7 separate regions of the Homo sapiens genome follow, and all the other regions are linked to region 1. Evidence: promoter capture Hi-C in 16 types of primary human blood cells and fetal thymus (Javierre and others, 2016). All regions are on one chromosome and are shown on one strand. The core of a region is centred on a gene start or on the middle of the fragment in contact, and the rest is flanking DNA. Distances in the headings are between cores, read along the strand shown. Region 1 holds the start of SQLE (squalene epoxidase). Region 2 overlaps TATDN1 (TatD DNase domain containing 1). Region 3 overlaps TATDN1 (TatD DNase domain containing 1). Region 4 overlaps MTSS1 (MTSS I-BAR domain containing 1). Region 5 overlaps MTSS1 (MTSS I-BAR domain containing 1). Region 6 overlaps MTSS1 (MTSS I-BAR domain containing 1). Region 7 holds the start of LOC124902016 (a long non-coding RNA gene).

The links. Contacts are between HindIII fragments. The CHiCAGO score rates a contact against its expected background, and 5 or more counts as called.
Region 2: a fragment that was not itself captured here is called in contact with the fragment with the promoter of SQLE in region 1 in 3 of 17 cell types (naive B cells, total B cells and erythroblasts); the score reaches 6.2 in naive B cells.
Region 3: a fragment that was not itself captured here is called in contact with the fragment with the promoter of SQLE in region 1 in 9 of 17 cell types (erythroblasts, naive B cells, total B cells and 6 more); the score reaches 12.7 in erythroblasts.
Region 4: a fragment that was not itself captured here is called in contact with the fragment with the promoter of SQLE in region 1 in 16 of 17 cell types (erythroblasts, megakaryocytes, naive B cells and 13 more); the score reaches 22.0 in erythroblasts.
Region 5: a fragment that was not itself captured here is called in contact with the fragment with the promoter of SQLE in region 1 in 16 of 17 cell types (erythroblasts, megakaryocytes, naive B cells and 13 more); the score reaches 26.6 in erythroblasts.
Region 6: a contact is called between a fragment that was not itself captured here and the fragment with the promoter of SQLE in region 1, in 16 of 17 cell types (megakaryocytes, naive B cells, erythroblasts and 13 more). The highest score is 27.5, in megakaryocytes.
Region 7: a contact is called between a fragment that was not itself captured here and the fragment with the promoter of SQLE in region 1, in 10 of 17 cell types (megakaryocytes, total B cells, M1 macrophages and 7 more). The highest score is 12.3, in megakaryocytes.

The regions. Positions count from the first base shown.
Region 1 is chr8:124,997,109-124,999,754 of GRCh38, forward strand. It overlaps SQLE (squalene epoxidase), which reads left to right and starts at 1,397. Exons shown (of 11, transcript NM_003129.4): 1 at 1,397-2,586. The coding sequence starts at 2,296. SQLE-DT (SQLE divergent transcript) reads right to left here and starts at 1,090. Exons shown (of 2, transcript NR_134457.1): 1 at 855-1,090; 2 at 1-52. RefSeq lists enhancers at 718-777, 1,708-1,757 and a silencer at 998-1,497. The HindIII fragment of the contact is 7,996 bases long and covers 1-2,646 here.
Region 2 is chr8:124,500,360-124,503,005 of GRCh38, forward strand. All of the region lies in intron 9 of TATDN1 (TatD DNase domain containing 1), which reads right to left. Among named protein-coding and RNA genes, the nearest start is that of MIR6844, 6.9 kb to the right of the region's middle. The HindIII fragment of the contact is 6,052 bases long and covers 1-2,646 here.
Region 3 is chr8:124,518,640-124,521,285 of GRCh38, forward strand. TATDN1 (TatD DNase domain containing 1) reads right to left here. Exons shown (of 12, transcript NM_032026.4): 4 at 179-242. Among named protein-coding and RNA genes, the nearest start is that of MIR6844, 11 kb to the left of the region's middle. The HindIII fragment of the contact is 6,152 bases long and covers 1-2,646 here.
Region 4 is chr8:124,551,585-124,554,230 of GRCh38, forward strand. MTSS1 (MTSS I-BAR domain containing 1) reads right to left here. Exons shown (of 14, transcript NM_014751.6): 14 at 1-2,108. The coding sequence ends at 1,408. Among named protein-coding and RNA genes, the nearest start is that of NDUFB9, 14 kb to the left of the region's middle. The HindIII fragment of the contact is 664 bases long and covers 1,005-1,668 here.
Region 5 is chr8:124,568,918-124,571,563 of GRCh38, forward strand. The region is part of intron 6 of MTSS1 (MTSS I-BAR domain containing 1); the gene reads right to left. The region is part of intron 1 of LOC105375740 (a long non-coding RNA gene); the gene reads left to right. Among named protein-coding and RNA genes, the nearest start is that of NDUFB9, 31 kb to the left of the region's middle. The HindIII fragment of the contact is 8,842 bases long and covers 1-2,646 here.
Region 6 is chr8:124,588,648-124,591,293 of GRCh38, forward strand. MTSS1 (MTSS I-BAR domain containing 1) reads right to left here. Exons shown (of 14, transcript NM_014751.6): 4 at 2,504-2,588; 5 at 973-1,064. Among named protein-coding and RNA genes, the nearest start is that of NDUFB9, 51 kb to the left of the region's middle. The HindIII fragment of the contact is 2,738 bases long and covers 1-2,646 here.
Region 7 is chr8:124,606,216-124,608,861 of GRCh38, forward strand. The region is part of intron 3 of MTSS1 (MTSS I-BAR domain containing 1); the gene reads right to left. It overlaps LOC124902016 (a long non-coding RNA gene), which reads left to right and starts at 522. Exons shown (of 2, transcript XR_007061088.1): 1 at 522-882. RefSeq lists an enhancer at 1,118-1,467. The HindIII fragment of the contact is 806 bases long and covers 913-1,718 here.

The DNA of each region.
Region 1 (2,646 bases), core at 147-2,646:
AGTTCATGAAGAAGTTGCCTTCTCCCCACAGAGGCAGAGTGACTTGTAACATCTGTAAAAGGTCACAGTCTGGTTAGCGGTAGCCAGAATCTGGGTCTCCTAACTCTAGTTGCCTAGTCTTGCTTTTATGCGCCAGTGTCGTTCATCATTCATTAAATACATGTTATGGAGGATAAATTAAGGGCAGAGCATTGTGCTAGGTGCTGTGGGTGATCTTATCAGACACAGATCTTTAGGGAATCTAGAGATTAAAAAGTATGAATAAAGTTATGTGACTTGGTGAAGGTCAATGGCGATTTGGTGGAAGAGGTGACAATGCAGCCACGCTCCAAAAGGCAGAAGGGATTTGCACCTATTATCATAGGGGTTAAAGAAGGAAGTCCAGAGTTAAGAAACAGGATGAGCAAAGACACTGAGGTCTTAAGCCTCAATAAATTTTAGGTAAGTTTCATCGTAGTAGAATAAGGGCTGTCTCACTCCGAGACTTTTGCACACTTTTGCTCCCTCGGACTGCTTGTCCTGGACACCGTGTAACCTCCCCCTGGGCGCCTCACCAGACTTCTCCAGGCCAAGGGAAGGACCACCTCTTGGGTTTCCATGGCTCCCTCTCTAACCACCCCCTTCTCAGGACACCTATGACACGACTATTTGACTTCTTTGCCTCCGAGCCCCCACCCCCAACGTTTCTGGTCTTGAGAGAACGGGCTGGGCGCATCCGTGTATCTCTAGCCTGAGCACCTGGAGCGTCCTCTCCTTTTCTTCTTAAGGCAAAAGCCTACTCATTCTTCCAGCTTCAGCTGGAATGTCAGGCTCTCCACGCACTCATGGCCCTCCCTTCCGCCCTCTCCACATACACAGGGCAGGGAAGCTGTGTCTGATTCCTCTTTCGGACTCCGGGGACTGACATATCATAAGCGCTCAATAAATGCTAGCGGAATGAATGGAAACGTTCCGACCCGAGGCAGCGGATCACTCCAGGCTTCTCCTCAAAGCGAGCACACCTCAGTCCAGGGAGGGCGCAGGAGCTGGGGCTGCTGCGGTGAACCAACCCCAACCCCGACCCCGACGCCGATCCCGGCCCCAGAGCGCCTCCTAGGCGACCCCTGGCCCCACCCACGCCGGAGCCGGCCCGCGCCCATCCCCACGCCCCAACCCGCACCACGCAACATCGCCCTAGCGCCTTTCGGGGCGTCGCCGCGCAGGTTGCGCCGCCTCCGATTGGCCAAACGCGGCATAGCGCCATCTCGGCCTACCGCGCGGTGCGCGCCCTCATTGGCCGGCGGCGGCAGGAGCAGGGGTAGGGGGCGGGGCAGCACGCGGGGCGCGCGGTATGGGCGGACTCGCGCCTGAGCCCCGCCCCCGGTCCCTCGTCTGGGCCGAGCCCGCCCAGCTGGCTGAGACGCGTGGAGCCTGGCGGCGAGTGGGGGCGTGCGACGGTTACTCTGGTTACTGGGGCCGCGCCGCGCTGGCGAGAGCCGCCGCCCGCGAGGGATGCTGGTGAGGAAGCCGTCGGGAGCCGCCGCCGCCATCTGAGGGAGGTACCCTGGAAACCACCTTTTATCGGTGGGGAAGTGCAGTCGCGGTGGGCGGCTCTGGGGGCCAGCGAAACGGGAGGCCTCTAAATCTTTAGGTTGGGGCTGCATTGCCCTGGAGCCGCACTCTTGAGTCCGAGGCCATCTTTTGTTGGAGAAGGCGTCGGCGTTGGCGTTTTCCCGAGGTTGGGCTGTACAGTGTCTCCGTCCGCGGAAAAAGAAGCCTCTGAACCCGCGCCGGCCCGCAGCCCCCGTGCCTTCCGGCCGCTGCTCGCCGTCGCCAGAGGCTAGGCCACGTTTCCCCCAGTGCCGAGGTGTTTCTGTGACCCTCCCTCCACTCCCATTCCCTTCTGAAAGGGCACCTGCTCTTGGTGAGAAAAGAAATTATAGCACGAAGAGCCAGTATCAGAAGAGTATCCATCACCCGCAGCAACCGCTCAGGGAACACCATCAAAAAAGAAAAAAAGGGAATATCTGGATTTCCTGGGCGAGGAGGAGCGAGTCTGCTCGGGAGCTGTTCCAGCAGGCGATTTTTAAATACTGCTTTCTACGCCCTATACAACTTGGCTTCACATACTTTTACACTAACTTTATATGATTTTTAAAAACTGGTCTGATCGGACTTCTCGTCCTGGGACACTGTTTACTGGAGTCTGGCCGGCTCTCCGTGCTCCTCTTGGTACCTCATTTTGGGGAGAACCTTAAACCCACTCGAGCAGATAATCTCCGCCTTGACCGGTGCCACCAAAGAAGCCTTGGAACCATGTGGACTTTTCTGGGCATTGCCACTTTCACCTATTTTTATAAGAAGTTCGGGGACTTCATCACTTTGGCCAACAGGGAGGTCCTGTTGTGCGTGCTGGTGTTCCTCTCGCTGGGCCTGGTGCTCTCCTACCGCTGTCGCCACCGAAACGGGGGTCTCCTCGGGCGCCAGCAGAGCGGCTCCCAGTTCGCCCTCTTCTCGGATATTCTCTCAGGCCTGCCTTTCATTGGCTTCTTCTGGGCCAAATCCCCCCCTGAATCAGAAAATAAGGAGCAGCTCGAGGCCAGGAGGGTAGGTTGATTTCAAAGCGGGCAGATGAATGTCTTATTTAGGAGTAGGATTGGGTTCACT
Region 2 (2,646 bases), core at 43-2,542, 500 kb before region 1:
TTTTGTGATTAGCTTAAACTAACATCCTAATGAACTCAAGATCATTTAGAAATATCTAAGACAGGAGCCAGGTACGGTGGCTCATGCCTGTAATCCAAGCACTCTGGGAGGCAGAGGCAGGTGGATAGCTTGAGCTCAGAAGTTTGAGACCAGCCTGGGCAACATGGTGAAACCCCATCTCTACAAAAAGTACAGACATTAGCCAAGCATGGTGATAGGAGCTTGTGGTCTCAGCTATTATACTTGGGAGGATCGCCTGAGCCCAGGAGGTCGGGGCTACAGTAAGTCGTCCAGCCTGAGAGGCAGAGTGAGACCCTGTCTCAAAAAAAAAAAACAACAACTAAGAATTATGGTTTTAAGTTGGTAAAATAAAGATCTTCTACCCCCTTCTCTTAAAAAAAAAAAAACAAAACCAAACTTACAGGGAGAAAACCAGGATTTTTTTAAATGAAACTAGGAGACATATGTTACCCCAAATCACAACATATAGCTGAAAGTGGACAGAGAAATGATAAAAGACCAGTGTTTAAGTGCCAAGTAACTTAAATGCTATGTGCCTGGAAAGAAAGACAAACAAACCTAGAAGTAGATACAGTCCCTAGAAAGTGGAGTAAGGCAGGGACTGAAATGGAGATTCTTTGAGAAAACTCCAAGAGAAGATGGGGTTCCTAGGTTATGTATCTGTGACTTGGTGCAGAGAAAGAGGTGCTGGGTCTCAAGACAATCCACATCAGAAACAGCTGGAGAACAACAAGCACAGAGGAGTACAGGCGTCAGGCACAGGCCTGAGCATGGAGACTGGGGCAGCCCACTAAACAGTGAGATCCTCTAACCCATCCTGCTCCAAAATACTGTCAGGGACATTTACAAACCCCTTCCCTCCACTGTTCCCCACTTTTCCAGCAGAGAACACAGGATCCCTTTCTGGAGAAACTGAACCAACCCAGAAAAAGATCTCTACAAACTGACATTTGGGAATCCCTAGCAAAAAGTCAGTTGGCCATCTGAGCCTGCCAGTTGCTGGAATGCCTTCTAGAGAGCTTCCAAATGGCTTTTTTTTTTCTTTTTTTAAATAGACAGTGAAGGACTGCCTGACATTTGAAGAAAGTTTCCATCATCACAGAGACCAAAGGAAAGAAGAAAAGGTGACTGTGAGGAAACAAATGCAGGAAGACAAGCAGAAAGTAACTTTAAACTATAATTCATGTCTTTAGAGAGATGAGAAGACACTGCAGTATAAAAATAGAGTATTCAGAAATTGAAAACAAAAGTTGAAGTAAATTTCATAAAAAGGGTTACAAAATATAGCACTTTTTTTGGAAGGAGGGAAACAATGGAAATAGAATAAAAAGAATACGAGTTATCAGTCTAGTATGCCCAAGAAAAGAACAGAAGAGAAAAATCAAATTCCAAGGACGGGTAAAGATGTGCCCCCCACTGGAAGGGCTAATGAAAAAGCAACACCAGGCGTGATGAAAACCATCAACACACACCTTCGTGAAATTTCACATCAGAGATGAAAAACTAAAACCTTTCACAAGAGAAGAAAACTAGGTCACAGGTAAAGGATTAGGAATCAGAGTAGCAACTTTTCATCAACACTGGAACCTACTGATGGGACAGTATAAATTCTCAATGAAAATGATTTCTGATCTTGAATTTTATTCAAGAGAACTATCCATTGAAAGTGGGGGGCTGGGTGTGGTGGCTCACACCTGTAATCCCAGCACTTTGGGAGGCCGAGACGGGCAGATCACGAGGTCAGGAGGTCGAGACCATCCCGGCTAACACAGTGAATCCCTGTCTCTACTAAAAATACAAAAACAAAAAAAATAGCCAGGTGTAGTGGCGGGCACCTGTAATCCCAGCTACTCGGGAAGCTGAGGCAGGAGAATGGCGTGAACCCGGGAGGCGGAGCCTGCAGTGAGCCAAGATCGCGCCACTGCACTCCAGCCTGGGCGACTGAGTGAGAGTCCCTCTCAAAAAAAAAAAAAAAAAAGTGGGGTTCTCTCCCCTTTCATTAACTATCCAGGCTAACTTGTAAGAGGAAGAGCAGAAAAAAAATTCATTTTCAAAATGGGAAGATGTATTTCAAACTTGACTTCAGAATCGTGTAGTTGCTCATCACTAAATGGGAAACCTTATTAAATAGAAATACTGGCTTGTATTTAAAAGAAACTTAATTCCCATGAAAACATCCTCAGAGGATGTTATAGAATGTGTTCCACTAAAACAAACACGCAAGGAATACATGGGATCTAAAAATAGGAACTAGTCCAAATTGAAACACATGGAAGGGTCTGCAACTGACGGAACTATTAGATTATCTACATAGGTTTGCTCATGTGGTATACTGTGCTTAACATTTCTTTTCTTGTACTACTTTTTGTTTTCCTGGATTAACCTCCCTCATATTTTTATTTACTTGGCTTTCTTAAACTTGAAGCCCAGCCTGGGCACATAGCAAGACCCTGTCTCAACTAAAAATTTAAAAAATAGCCAGGTGTGGTGGCATGCACCAGTAATACCAGCTACTCAGGAGGCTGAGGTGGGAGGGTTGCTTGAGCCTGGGAGGTCAAGGCTGCAGAGTTGTGATCACGCCACTGCATTCCAGCTTGGGCTACAGAGCAAGCAAGTCCCTATCTT
Region 3 (2,646 bases), core at 103-2,602, 480 kb before region 1:
CTGATATACCAATGAGTACTTTGAATTTTGTCATCTTAATCATGTCCCATTTAAATCAGTCCATTTTCCTATTGTTTCCAGTCATGATCCATTGTATTGTACCTGAAGCAGTTTTCAGAAAGACTTCTTCAAAATTACTTAATTCATTTTTTTTTTGGTAAAAGAAATATGAGGATACCATTTGTTTGTGCCAAATGCAGTGCATCTTTACTGTCTTGTAGATTTCCACCTGTAATCATAAACTGAAATAGAAAGAAAATAAAATAAGCTGACTTTAATAGGGCAGCAATAACAGTTTCCTAAACATGCCTTCCTACCACTTCCTTATTCCAGAATGCTCTTTCCTCTGTGACTGCCACACACCTACCCTTTAAAATTCAGCTGGGAGATTACCTCCTATGCAGAGTAGTGCCTGACTACACCTCAGGGATGTATGTATGTGTGTGTGCATGTAGAGGTGCAGAATTCATCACTAGACTCTGTTAAAATGTATTTATATACCCACCTTTCCTATTAGACAATGCATTCCTTGAGGACAGAGATCAGGTGTTATGAAAGCGTGAATAACGAAATCAATGATTCAATAGTGTTGATTGATTCAACAGTTCTCCAGGTGTAGTCTGGTAACTCCCAGTAGGTATGTGAAGTCAAAACTATTTTCCTAACAATAATAAGACACTTTCTGTCTTTTTCACTCTCACTCTACTGCAAGTGTCCACAAGGTATTCAAGAAGCTACACGATGTTTGACACCACCAGAGACTGACTACAGAAAAAGATATGAAAATTCAGCAGGCTTCTAGTAACACAGTCATTAGAGATTTGAAAAAACATACAACTGTACTCATGTTGCTAATTTTTTTGTTCTGGAATATACTTATTTTTCATAAAAATATGCTATTTATGTTATCCAGTAGTTTCTTATTTTAAAAGGAATATTTAAAATATTTTGTTTTAATTTTTAATATAGTATGTATCAGTAGGTAAGACTCACACAAACAAAAGCTCTTTGGGGGTCCTCAATAATAAAGAATGTGAAGTGGTTTTGAGAGCAAAAGGTTTGAGAATCAGTGAGTTAATGCATGCTAATGAATTCTCTGTAGGAAAACGTATGGCTTTTGGCAAATAAGCATACTTCTGCATAGACCCATTAGAGTCCGCTCAGTAATTAGAATGCCATCTTTCCTAATCTGTTAAAATGAAAATGTCACTAAAGAGTTATGTGTTGATAGTGAGAGCACTGAAGCAGTGCTGCGTAAGGGGCGCCTTCTTCTGAAGACGTGATTCAAGTATAATGATGTATATTTTTGTAAAGCATACTTCAAAAGTCTCACTAAAATGAATTCATTCTAGGTACAACTTAGGGAGAAAACACAAAACGAAGGTAGAATTGCAAATGATAAATAGATATTTTCATATAGCTATTTAAATCTTTAATATGATTAGCTATTGCATATCCATTCCGGAAACATAGCCATAATTAAATCCTTGACTATCTGTAAAGCAGAAGATGTAAGGCAGGGCGCAGTGGCTCACGCCTATAATCCCAGCACTTTGGGAGGCTGAGGCAGATGGATCACCCGTGGTCAGGAGTTTGAGACCATCCTGGCCAACATGGCGAAACCCCGTCTCTACTGAAAATACAAAAATTAGCCAGGCGTGGTGGCAGGCCCCTGTAGTCCCAGCTACTTGGGAGGCTGAGGCAGGAGAATCACTTGAACCCGGGAGGCAGAGGTTGCAGTGAGCCGAGATCGTGCCACTGCACTCCAGCCTGGGGGACAGAGCGAGACTCGCCTCCAGAAAAAAAAAAAAAGACTAATAAAAATATTGGGAAAACTTTCTTGTTACTAACATACCTAAAACTTTAATACTAGAACAGATGCCTACATCCAGTATTTAAATTACGTAAAATACTAACCAAGTATACTTTTTATTTTACCTACAACTTTACTAAATAGTTGAAAAAAACGGCAAGACAAGAGGGCATCATCTCCTCTCCCAGTGTATAAAATAACGATGATGGGCCTGGCGCGGTGGCTCAAGCCTGTAATCCCAGCACTTTGGGAAGCCAAGGCTGGCAGATCACGAAGTCAGGAGATCGAGACCATCCTGGCCAACGTGGTGAAACCCCGTCTCTACTAAAAATACAAAAAAATTAGCCGGGTGTGGTGGCGGGCGCCTGTAGTCCCAGCTACTCGGGAGGCTGAGGCAGGAGAATGGCGTGAACCCGGGAGGCAGAGCTTGCAGTGAGCCGAGATCATGCCACTGCACTCCAGTCTGGGTGACAGAGCGAGACTCCGTCTCAAAAAAAAAAAAAAAAAAAAAAGATAACGATGATGATGATCTCATGGTGGTGGCTTCCATCATACACATAATGAAGGTTGTTTATGCCAGGTATAATACCAAATGCTTTACACTCAATATTTTATTTAGCCTTCATAACAACTCTATTAATTAAGTACTATTATCATTCTCATTTTACAGATGAGAAAACTGAAGTCTAGTGAGATAAAAGACTCCAGGTTATAAAGCTATGAAAAATGAAGTAGGGGCTGGATACCACGTTTGTTATGCCCTAACTATGCTTTTAACTACTACACTATAAATGCAAGGTATTGAATTAAATTTCAGTTTGGAACCATGTCCA
Region 4 (2,646 bases), core at 87-2,586, 450 kb before region 1:
GTGCCCTGTTATGACCTGACTGCTAAGGGACTTGCTTGCTTTCTTAAACACTATTGTCTTCAAATGTGATCCCTTTAAATCTACAAATCTCTGTTGGCTTTAGGGGATGGGCAGTATAACAAATTTAACTTCCACTTAGAAAAGACAAATCTTTTCCAAAAAACATTTACCCAGAATACAAAAAAAGGACAGTATAGTGGTCAGATTCCCAGTGACAATAAACAAATCCTCCTCTCTTCAATGTTTACTGTAAAGCCAGTTAACTGCCATTTATTTGAAAGAAGAAAAGAAAAACAAGCCCCCAGATTGGTAAACACATTGGCAAGTTGCTAGACTCCAAGCTGGCTACCCTTGTCAAATCTGTTCGAGTTTTTTCAAAATACTTGGGCTTTTTAACGCACCCAGCCTGCTGGGCACAGTTAAGTAAAAGGCATTTACTATAATCTAAGAATTCCCTGCTATTATCATTTTTAAATGTTTTCACATTTTTAAAACTGCCTTACCCTTTTGGATGTATTTGGATTCCATAAAGGTGAGTACAATCAACGAGAAACTGAAGTGGGAGATTCTACGACTGCCCAGAGGCAGCAGCATGCATGGGGCTGGTTGTGGGTGCTGTGTGCAGTCCAGAGGAATCATGGGAGAAAGGAAGTCAAGTCCTTAAACACCCTACAGAAACAAACACTGCAATCCAGTATGGCTTATTCGGATGCATTTACCATGAAGCTACCAGAAGAAATTCAACCTACGAGGCTACTCTTAAATGTAACAGGATCGGCTATGTTGACGATGTACCCCTCCCATGGCCCTCCCCCCAATCCCAACACAGTCTACCATTTCCAGATTTACTTCACTCTGAATATTGCTCATCAATTGTTACTCCTGCTCTTTTCATCCAGAACATAGTATATTTAAATGAAGATTTTACCTCTTACCCATTTAGTTTGTACATTAAAATAACTTGCATTTGCTTCTAAGCTAGACTACTACAATGCATCTACAAAAGCTTGTGGGGAAAAAAAAAGAAGAGTGAAGTATAGTAAATCCTTTTCTAAAATTAACTACTTCGTGGTTCCCCTGCCCCAACCCCCTTTATGCATTTAAAATTTTACAAAGACTTGTAAAAAAGTTAAATGGAATTTGGCACCTTCAGAAAAATCAAAAGGGAAACTAAGATTAAAATGTGCAGAAAGAAAATTGTCAATATTTACAAATTAAAAGATCAAGATTATGTCAGTTACATAGGTTGGTTTTAATTCTTATCTAAAGGTGTCGAGTACTTTCAAAAGAGCTATATTCCGAGTTGCCTACAAAATCTTTTGTTTTATTATAGAGTGGAATGGATCAAGACAAATTAGGTTTTATTAATGAAACAGTTCATTCCCCACCGGCGCATTTCTTGTGAACCTAAGAAAAGCGAGGGGCTGAGCGATCGTTTGTCGTGGTCTTCTTCAGTTTCACGCCCCTTCGGATGGCGTTCAGCATGTCTTCTCCTTGTGGAGTATCCCTTGGGCTCAGGTCTGCAGGGTCACTCTCTGGAATCTGGCCTGGGGAGACAGTGGCACTTGGGGGTTCCCGTTCCTGGTCTTCAGCTTCACTTTCTGGAATTGCCTGTCTGTGCTCCTCAGGGATACTGGGCTTCGGGCCTGGAAGTGGAGGGTTAACGGAAGCTTGGCCGCTCCACATTGAGGAGGGCATGCTGGTGACACCTTGGGGGCCCTCACCCACAGATGGCGACTCAGGGCTGTGCTCCCCCCGCTCTTCTGGCCCATCTGGAGGGGCTGGCAACACCCCTGGGAGGTCTGGGACGGTTGGGGTCTTGACAGGGATCACGGGTGTCTTGATGGGGATGGGACCAGCTCCAATGGTTCCCCGGCGGACAGAAGGCTTGGTGGAAGGGGTCCGTCGGATAGTTGCAACCCCTGGAGTGACCATAGCAGGTCCCAGGGTGGTGGGGAGGCCAGCAGTTGAGGCTGGACGCTTGGCTTGGAACATCCGTCGGTAGGACTGGCTGATGTCGCTGTTTCTTGGAATGGTGGAGGACTTGTCGAACTCCTGCTGATCTGCCTCCTGGTCACCACTTACAGAGAAATAATCATAATCTGAAACTGATTATAGGATTTGATTAGACATATTCAAGACAGCAGCTGTGCTTTTTTGATTCTTCTGGGCTGGGAGGACAAAAGGCACGCAAGGCAGGGTACACACACAGTCTCATCCCAAGCTTCCCCCAGGCTTCTCTACCATCTTCAGAAAGCCTCACCAACTAAGAACTCCGTGGCAGGGATCTTTGCTTTGTTCACTGATGTGTCCCAAGTACCTAGAACAGTGCTGGACACGGTAGGCACTCAAATATCGTCAATGGGGAAGAAGGTAAAGCTGCTAGGCTGCAGCGAAGCTACCTGCAAGCGTCTCTGGGAGGAATAAGGGGGATGAAAGAAGACAAATTCTCCAGTCCAGAACTCAACGTGAAGATCAAACCTCAAATAGACTAGCCTAGGCTATAACATCTCCCTGATAATTAACTGGAGAGGCAAGGGCTAGACAAAGAACAAAGCTACTGACAGTGAGTCCCTGACAATAAGGGACAAAGACAGTTTCCATCAGTGTCATGTGCTCACTTCCTTGTAAGACCAATCTCAGGAT
Region 5 (2,646 bases), core at 74-2,573, 430 kb before region 1:
AGAGCCTGTGGGTGTTTCCAAAAACGGGCACGGGCTGGCTTTGTTGGGTCAATCTCAATCAAAGAGCCTCTGTCTGGATAGAAGGATCTGCTCCTAAAGACAAAGGTGGCAAGCATCCGCTCTCCTGGCTCTGGGGGCCCATGGGAATCCTTGGCAGTTCCTTTGACTCTCTAGTGGAGAGTCTTGAATGCTCTTGCTGTAGAACAAGCCCAGTAATAACAAGACCTCCAGACAGGTCTCTGATGATGAAAAACTGAAAGTGGGGTCTATGCGGAGCCTGGCCCATGTTTAGGAATTATCTGGCCAGGTCCACAGACCCCAGTTAGGTGCAGGCAACCACTTCTGGAGTTTAAGACAGGGTGTTAGTCTTTTGAATGACTAACACATGGTCAGCAAACCATCTTTGCAAATAAAGTTTTATTAGAACACAGCCAAATCCATTTATTTACCATATTGCCTGTACCAGTTCTCCCTACAATGGCAGAGTAGTGTGACACAGAGTATGGCCCCCAGACCATGGCCTCTTGCAAAAGAAGCCTGCTGCCCTAAAAGATAAACATGGACCAAGAGGCACTGTGTCCAAAGGAGCAGCTACTACAAATCTGATCTGTAGGTGGGGACAGCAGGGTGACAGCAGGGGACACCAGCTCATGAGCTTCCACCTTGGGCTGCCTATGCAGGGGCCTTACCTATCACTCAAACCAGAGAGATACTTCCTAAACTTCTTCAGGGCAGGATTTTGGTCTTTCCCAGCACAGCCCCTAGTACAATGTCATGTGTGTATACAGCAGGTGCTTGATAAATGTCTGTTTAATAGTTTCAACACAAAATGTTAGAGCTGGAAGGGGTTATCCAATTGGGCCAATCTGCTCATGTTTCAATGGAGACCAAGTCCTAGAGAAGTCAAGGGACTCACCTAAGGTCACAGAAAGAATGGTACAGAGGCAGGGTTGAGCCACACTGCCTAATTCCCTTAACACTGAACCTATTCTCTGCCCCACCGCCTCGCAGGAAGGGCCCTGCAGTTTCCATCTATCCCTCTTAGTGATGTAGAGAACATTAAATGCAATGAACCATTTGGTCTGAAGAAAGAAAGGGTCAGGGAAAATTGCCTTGGATGTAGGAACATATTCTGTATTTTTCACTCATAAGCAGAGGAGAAAGTTTAATTTGGAGCAAGAGGCAATCAGGCTTAAAGCACATCCCAATAGAAAAGGTAGTCAGATTTTAGTAAGGAAAAGTCACTTCTCAGACAGGGAATAAGTTCTAAGTTAGCACATTATGAGAAAATTATAGTCAAAGATCACCCTTGAAAATGCCTTAGATGGCCAGTAAATACAGTATGGACAGCTTTGTGTATATAACTCTCATCAGTCAAGTGAGTACAAATGTGTAGATAGTATGTATCTAAGTCCACGGAGGGGTGCTACCCAACGATTATACTACACTGGCCCCTCCTCTGTGGTTTTGCTTTCCAAAGTTTCAGCTACCCATGGTGTGGTAAAATACGGTATTTTGAAAGAGAGAAAGAGACTACATTCGCATGACTTTTATTACAGTATATTGTTATAATTGTTCTATTATTATTGTTGTTAATCTCTTACTGTGCCTAAATTATGTATTAAACTTTACCATAGACATGTATGCATGGGAAAAACCACAGTATATGTAAGGTTCGGGTACTATCTGCAGTTTTAGGCATCCACGGGGGGTCTTGGAACATATCCCCTGAGGAGAAGGGGGAACTACTATATATAAGAAATTTGCTGCTTGAGAAGTCTCTGCATAATTTTCTCCTTTTTGGAGACAGAGTCTTGCTCTGTCACTCAGGCTGGAGTGCAGTGGAATGATCATAGCTCATTGCAGCCTCAGCCTCTTAAGCAGCTGGGACTACCAGCGTGCACCACCATGCCCAGCTAGTTTTTCAATTTTTTTTTATAAAGATTGGGTCTTGCTTTATTGGCCAGACGGTCTTGAACTCCTGGCCTCAAGTGATCCTCCCACCTCAGCCTCCCAAAGTGCTGGGATTACAGACATGAGCCACAGCGCCTGGGTGTTTCAGCATATTTTCAAGGTGACCCACTCACCCATTCTTCCATGTAGTCACTACCTCCACCCCTCAGAATAATTCTTTACCATGCCTTCAATTTCTTCCTCAAGGATGTAGGAGTAATCATCACCATACATTAATCTGGCCACCTGAGCCACTGGTTTCATGTGTTTTTAGTAGACAAGAAACCTGTAAAAACATTCTCCCATTCTCTCCTGGAATCTGCCTCAGGGCAGGTGCTCTGTTCACAGAGACCCACCACCTGTGGCCAACGGCTTACAGAGGGAAGGCTGGGTGCCACCAGCACTATGAAAACTGTGAGTTTTCTCTTCTATTTTAAAATGCTGGCTAGTGCAAAATTAATCCAGATATACTTAATGTGTGTATGATACGAGTCCACCAGCAGGGAAGCTCTGGAAAGCTGTAAACCCTTGCTTTTCCTCTGCAAGCAGCCAAACAGCATGGCCAATTGTGGGCCTTGTTGGGTCACATGACTCAGGGCTGGTCTAGAGGGCTACTTCTAGTCTCTCGATCTATTCTATGATGTTCTAATAACAAAACACAGAGGGCTGCAGACCACCTCAGAATGTTCTCAA
Region 6 (2,646 bases), core at 94-2,593, 410 kb before region 1:
TCAAAATGTGCTGAAATGCCTTAAGTATAAATGTTTGGCATTTAAACCTGCCATGATGATTTTCACTTCTTTGGAGGGTTAGGGGGAGGCAGTGTCTTGCTCTGTCACCCAGGCTGGAGTGCAGTGGTGCAATCTCTGCTTACTGCAACCTCTGCCTCCTGGGTTCAAACAATTCTCGTGTCTCAGCCTCCCGAGTAGTTGGGATTACAGGCATGCACCACCACACCTGGATACTTTTTGTATTTTTAGTAGCCATAGGGTTTCACCAAGTTGGCCAGGCTGGTCTCAGACTCCTGGACTCAAGTGATCTGCCCACCTGAGCCTCCTGAAGTGCTGGAATTACAGGTGTGAGCCACTGCACCCGGCCTATGATTTCTTCTTTTTCTTTTTTTTTGTTTTTTGAGATGGAGTCTCACTCTGTCGTCCAGGCTGGAGTACAATGGTGCAATCTTGGCTCACTGCAACCTCTGACTCCCGGGTTCAAGCGATTTTTGTGTCTCAGCCTCCCAAGTAGCTGGGATTACAGGCACCCACCACCATGCTTGGCTAATTTTTGTGTTTTTAGTAGAGATGGGGTTTCAACATGTTGGCCAGGCTGGTCTCAAACTCCTGACCTCAAGTGATCCGCCCGCCTCGGCCTCCCAAAGTGCCGGGATTACAGGTCTGAGCCACCGCGCCCACCCTGTGATTTATTCTTAATTCAGCTGAATACAATTCATGCCACTGAGGGATCAGACTATCAGCTGCTGAATGTTGTTTCACACCAAAGAAACAGCACTCAGCCTCACAACGGGATCACTTTGTTCTCCTCATCCCCTGACACGGACGTGCCTACAGGAGAGTAGGGACAGAGTGGGCCCTTGGCTGTTTTGGTGACACCAATAAACCTAGCAGAGGGGCCAGGCAGCAGCTGGCAACTTCCCACAGCGCCCCCCAGCGTGCAGTGATGCGCTAGACATCTCGCCCCTGTACCTTTTGCGTGGTCTTTATCCAGCTGGTTGGCCACTTTCTTCCATTCTTCCATCTGTTCTTGAAGTGGGTTTATCAGACAATCAATTAAAGCGCTTTTACCAAGCGGGGGGGAAAAAGGGAGAAATTAAATAGATACATTCTGTTGTCAGGATTTAAATGTGGTTGTCAAAACATACCTAAATCACAATTACCCGAAACGTTCTCATCTAAACCCCGGGGCTCCAGAACAGCCATGTTCCAAGAATGCTTTTCTTTTAAGACAGAGTCTCGCTCTGTCACCAGGCTGGAGTGCAGTGGCGCGATCTCGGCTCACTGCAACCACCACCTCCCAGGTTCAAGCGATTCCCCTGCCTCAGCCTCCCAGGTAGCTGGGACTACAGGAACACATCACCATGCCCAACTAATTTTTTGTATTTTAGTAGAGATGGGTTTTCACCATGTTGGCCAGGATGGTCTTGATCTCCTGACCTCATGAGCCGCCTGCCTTGGCCTCCCAAAGTGCTGGGATTACAGGCGAGAGCCACCGCGCCTGGCCCCAAGAATGTTTTTCAATGACTACTAAGAAGCTGTCAATGTGACTGGTGGGAGTGACCCTTCTTCCCATTTTCCCTGTGATATTCTAGTGTTTGTATTAACAAGCCAAGTTGCAGAACCACAGGGGTCACCCCTCTGAGAGCTGCACAACAGGGACCCCCAAAATGCAAAGACACCTGGGCCTTATCTCACCCCCAATGGAGACTTTGAGGGTGGGGCCCAGCATCACTATTTTTAAAAAAGACCCACAAGATTCTGCTGTGCATGCGGCATGACAGGTCATAAATATACACTAAGTATGCACAGCCTGGAGAAAGAGAAGAGTGACGAGACCCAGAAAATTCTCGAGCTGCACTGCCAGCCTCGGGGTTACTGAGGGGTGAAGGTCTCTGAAGGTGTGCCCCTTCATTTTGTGCAGTCTCCCAAACAGAATCACATAAAACTGCTGAATGATGCTGATCTGCTTGGAAAGCAATGTCCATTTTCACTTGAACATTTGTAACCCAATTCCGGTGCCAGCTACTACCATTTCTTCCCTATTCTGGATGCCTGGAAGCCAGATGGGAAGCTGGCGGTGTGGAGTGGTCTGTGAGCTGCCACATCCCTCAGTGAGTCTGGAGGATGCACACAGGATACCAAGGCACATCTCACTCTCCAATTTCACAGCCCCTCTTCTTGCGAGGCTCCCGCAGGGCAGTGGGGGCCCAAAAGACCTCAGCAGGCTGCACCGGCTCCTTGCACAGACAAAGGGTAAGGAGAGACCCATGCAGGAGCACAGGCTCTGTGAAGGCAGGGGCCTGGCTGGCTGGTGATCTGCTGCACCCCCAGGGCCTCGACCAGTGCCTGGTATGCAGCAGATGCCTAACAATACTCAGGCAATGAATGAGCCAAGTCAGACAGATTGTGGGGATTTAAATGCTGTGTGCCACACATGACTGCTTCCTTAACCTGAAATCTGCAAGGGTGTTGGCGATCGGGGCCAAAACATGCTCCTCACCTCGAAAACTGCCTCAGCTTGGCTTCAATGCTTCTGTGCCTCATGCACATCCTGGTGAGAGCAGATCCAATCTCCCTGGTCCCACCTGAAAAAGCAACAGAGGCAAAGGTGAGGGATAGAAGACTAGCAGGGATCATGGAGGT
Region 7 (2,646 bases), core at 66-2,565, 390 kb before region 1:
AGGCTGGAGTACAATGGCATGATCTTGGCTCACTGCAACCTCTGCCTCCTGGGTTCAAGCGATTCTGGGATTACAGGCACCCACAACTACGCCCAGCTAATTTTTGTATTTTTAGTAGAGACGGGGTTTCACCGTGTTGGCCAGGCTGGTCTCAAACTCATGATCTCAAGTGATCCACCTGCCTCAGCCTCCCAAAGTGCCGGGACTACAGGCACAAGCCCCTGCACCCCGCCAAAAGTAGGTATCATTATCCTCATTTTACAGATGAGGCCAAGGGTACTCAGAGAGGTTAAGTAACTTGCCCAAGGTCACACAGAATTCAGAATTTACATCCAGGGCTGAGTCGATAGCTAGAACTTTCAACCACTCCATTCTTGGGGGCATCTCACTGTTGCCAGGACATTACCAACAGAAACATTTGGCAGATAGGGAATTAGGTTTTCTTCCCCCACCCCCGATCCTATAACTGGGAGAAAATAAGAGCCCTTCCCCCGAACATCTGTTTTATCAGCCAGATTCAAACCGTGCTGTCGCCACTTCCTCGCTCAACTGTGTACAGTTGGCCGGTCTGCATCCAAGGCCATGAGTTCAGGGTGGACATGTACTGTCAGGCTTCAGCAGGAATCACCTCCTGCCAGCTTCCTTTGGCAGGGTACACTGCTTATTCATGCAGAGGACCCCTCCTTATTTGCCAGGACAATCTATCCTGAAATCACCCTTTCAGCCACTGACTCCCCTCCGCAACCTGTCTTAGCAGGAGGCATCTTCAGGACAGCTTCCCAGGGATGGCCCTGGGAATCATGCTTAGCTGAATTCAGGATCCTGTTTTCTAGAAACTGACGTTTTAGAAACAGCTTCAGACATAGAAGGAGCTCAACAAACGTGAGTAAGTGGAACCAGGCAGACATGCCAAGCTTCGCGTTCTACGCTCGTAATATTTGCTCTTCCTCGATTCTCTCCTGGCTCCTCCTCATCCCTCTTCCCCATTTTTACTGCACACCTTTACTGAGTTAAAGTTCTAGAGGAAAAGTGGCTGCAACTAAGCCAAGACTCTATCAAAGGCCCTTGAGGGATACAGGCCAGGGACAGAGGATGCATTCTGCAGTTGATTTCCCGGCCAAACTCATCTGGGGTCATTTAAACTAACTCGTATACTATCTTCTTCTCCTCCTCTCTATCTCTTCAATTTCTATCTCAAGTCATACCTTCCCCAGATGGTTTCTGAATGAGTGTCTGGATGGTTTCTGATCTAAACAGAGTTTTTAAAAAAGGAATTGAAATTCTAACCCCGGAATAGCAAACAAGAGGCTGGCTTTTACCATTCAACAGAGAAAGCAAGTATGAGGCTTGCGCAGGAGAGAAAGCAGCACCGTGACACGACCAAAGTGCCCTTGAGTCCCTACAAGCTAGACAAGCCCGAGCCTCCCAGCCTCCATCTATTCAATGGAAGGGCATAACTGGTTTTAGTTTCTAGCTCCCAAATCGAGTCTCAGGTCAAGCAGTGGTAATGTGAATCCAAAAACTATTCTCAGTAGGTCTAAAAGCCTCTTTACTGCTCAGGCTAACTTAAGCACTCACAGTCCTTTGCTTTCTGTTGGAATTATATAAAGCCCGATAAAAATGACCCCAGGTTAACAGTTATTATATATCTCTACAGAAAAGGGGGGGCTTAATTATTACTTAAAAATGTAATTTGTTCGGTAAATAAGATTTTACAAAGCTTGAGGTAGGTCAGTAGAGATTGGTAACGTGGAGAGTCCTCAGTGGTTAGAAGCCACTGCTGGAAGTGGAAGATAAAATGTGTATTCCCAAAACATTTTCCCAGTCTTGCCCAATTACCATGAAAATGGGACATGATTCTAGCACCCTGATGACCTTCTGAGGTTAAACTAAACTGCTCTGTATTAGATGCCCCTCTGAGAGCTGGTCACATCATGTAATGAAGACTTTACTAGATAACTCAAGCCACTCTGGTTCCTCTTCCAGTTCTCCTTCTCCTGCACTGTTTTCTTCCCCACACCCACTTTATTAACTGTGTTCTTCTAACAAAATGCAGATAAGAATAACTACCAATGAATGACTGAAACCTGACTGTGGCTCAGTCATCAGTTAGGAAGTTGCCAGAAGGCAATGGGATTGTGGGACACAGGGGCTGACCACATGTCCCATGGATGAGCACTGGAGCCAGGGTAACATCATGGCCTCGCCTCCTCCAGCAATATCATGGCCTCGCCTCCTCCGACAAGGTCATTGCCCAACTGCAGAGAACCAGTAGGGTCTGGTTTATCGCCACTGTATTGTGCATGTTCAGGTTGCCGACATCTTTTCAAGCAGTGGGCCTGAGTGTTCCTTCCCACTGCCCTGGGGTATGATGGGGGTCCTAATTCCCAACACTTAAGGCCTATGCAAACAGCTGTTTCCTTGTTTTTTATGTTAGTTACTTTTTTAGAATGAGCTCTTCATAGACAAAGGCAAGGATGGTAAATCAGTTTATCTCTTGGGCTAATTCTGATCAGGTGTATGGATGCCTGGGGCACTGTGTGGAGGGTGCTGTGGGCAGCTATGCGCTAGATGGAAAATGGATTGGCTAGATCAGCTAGTAATGTCTGCTACAACCGCAGGACAGTGGAAGGATGCAGACTCTGT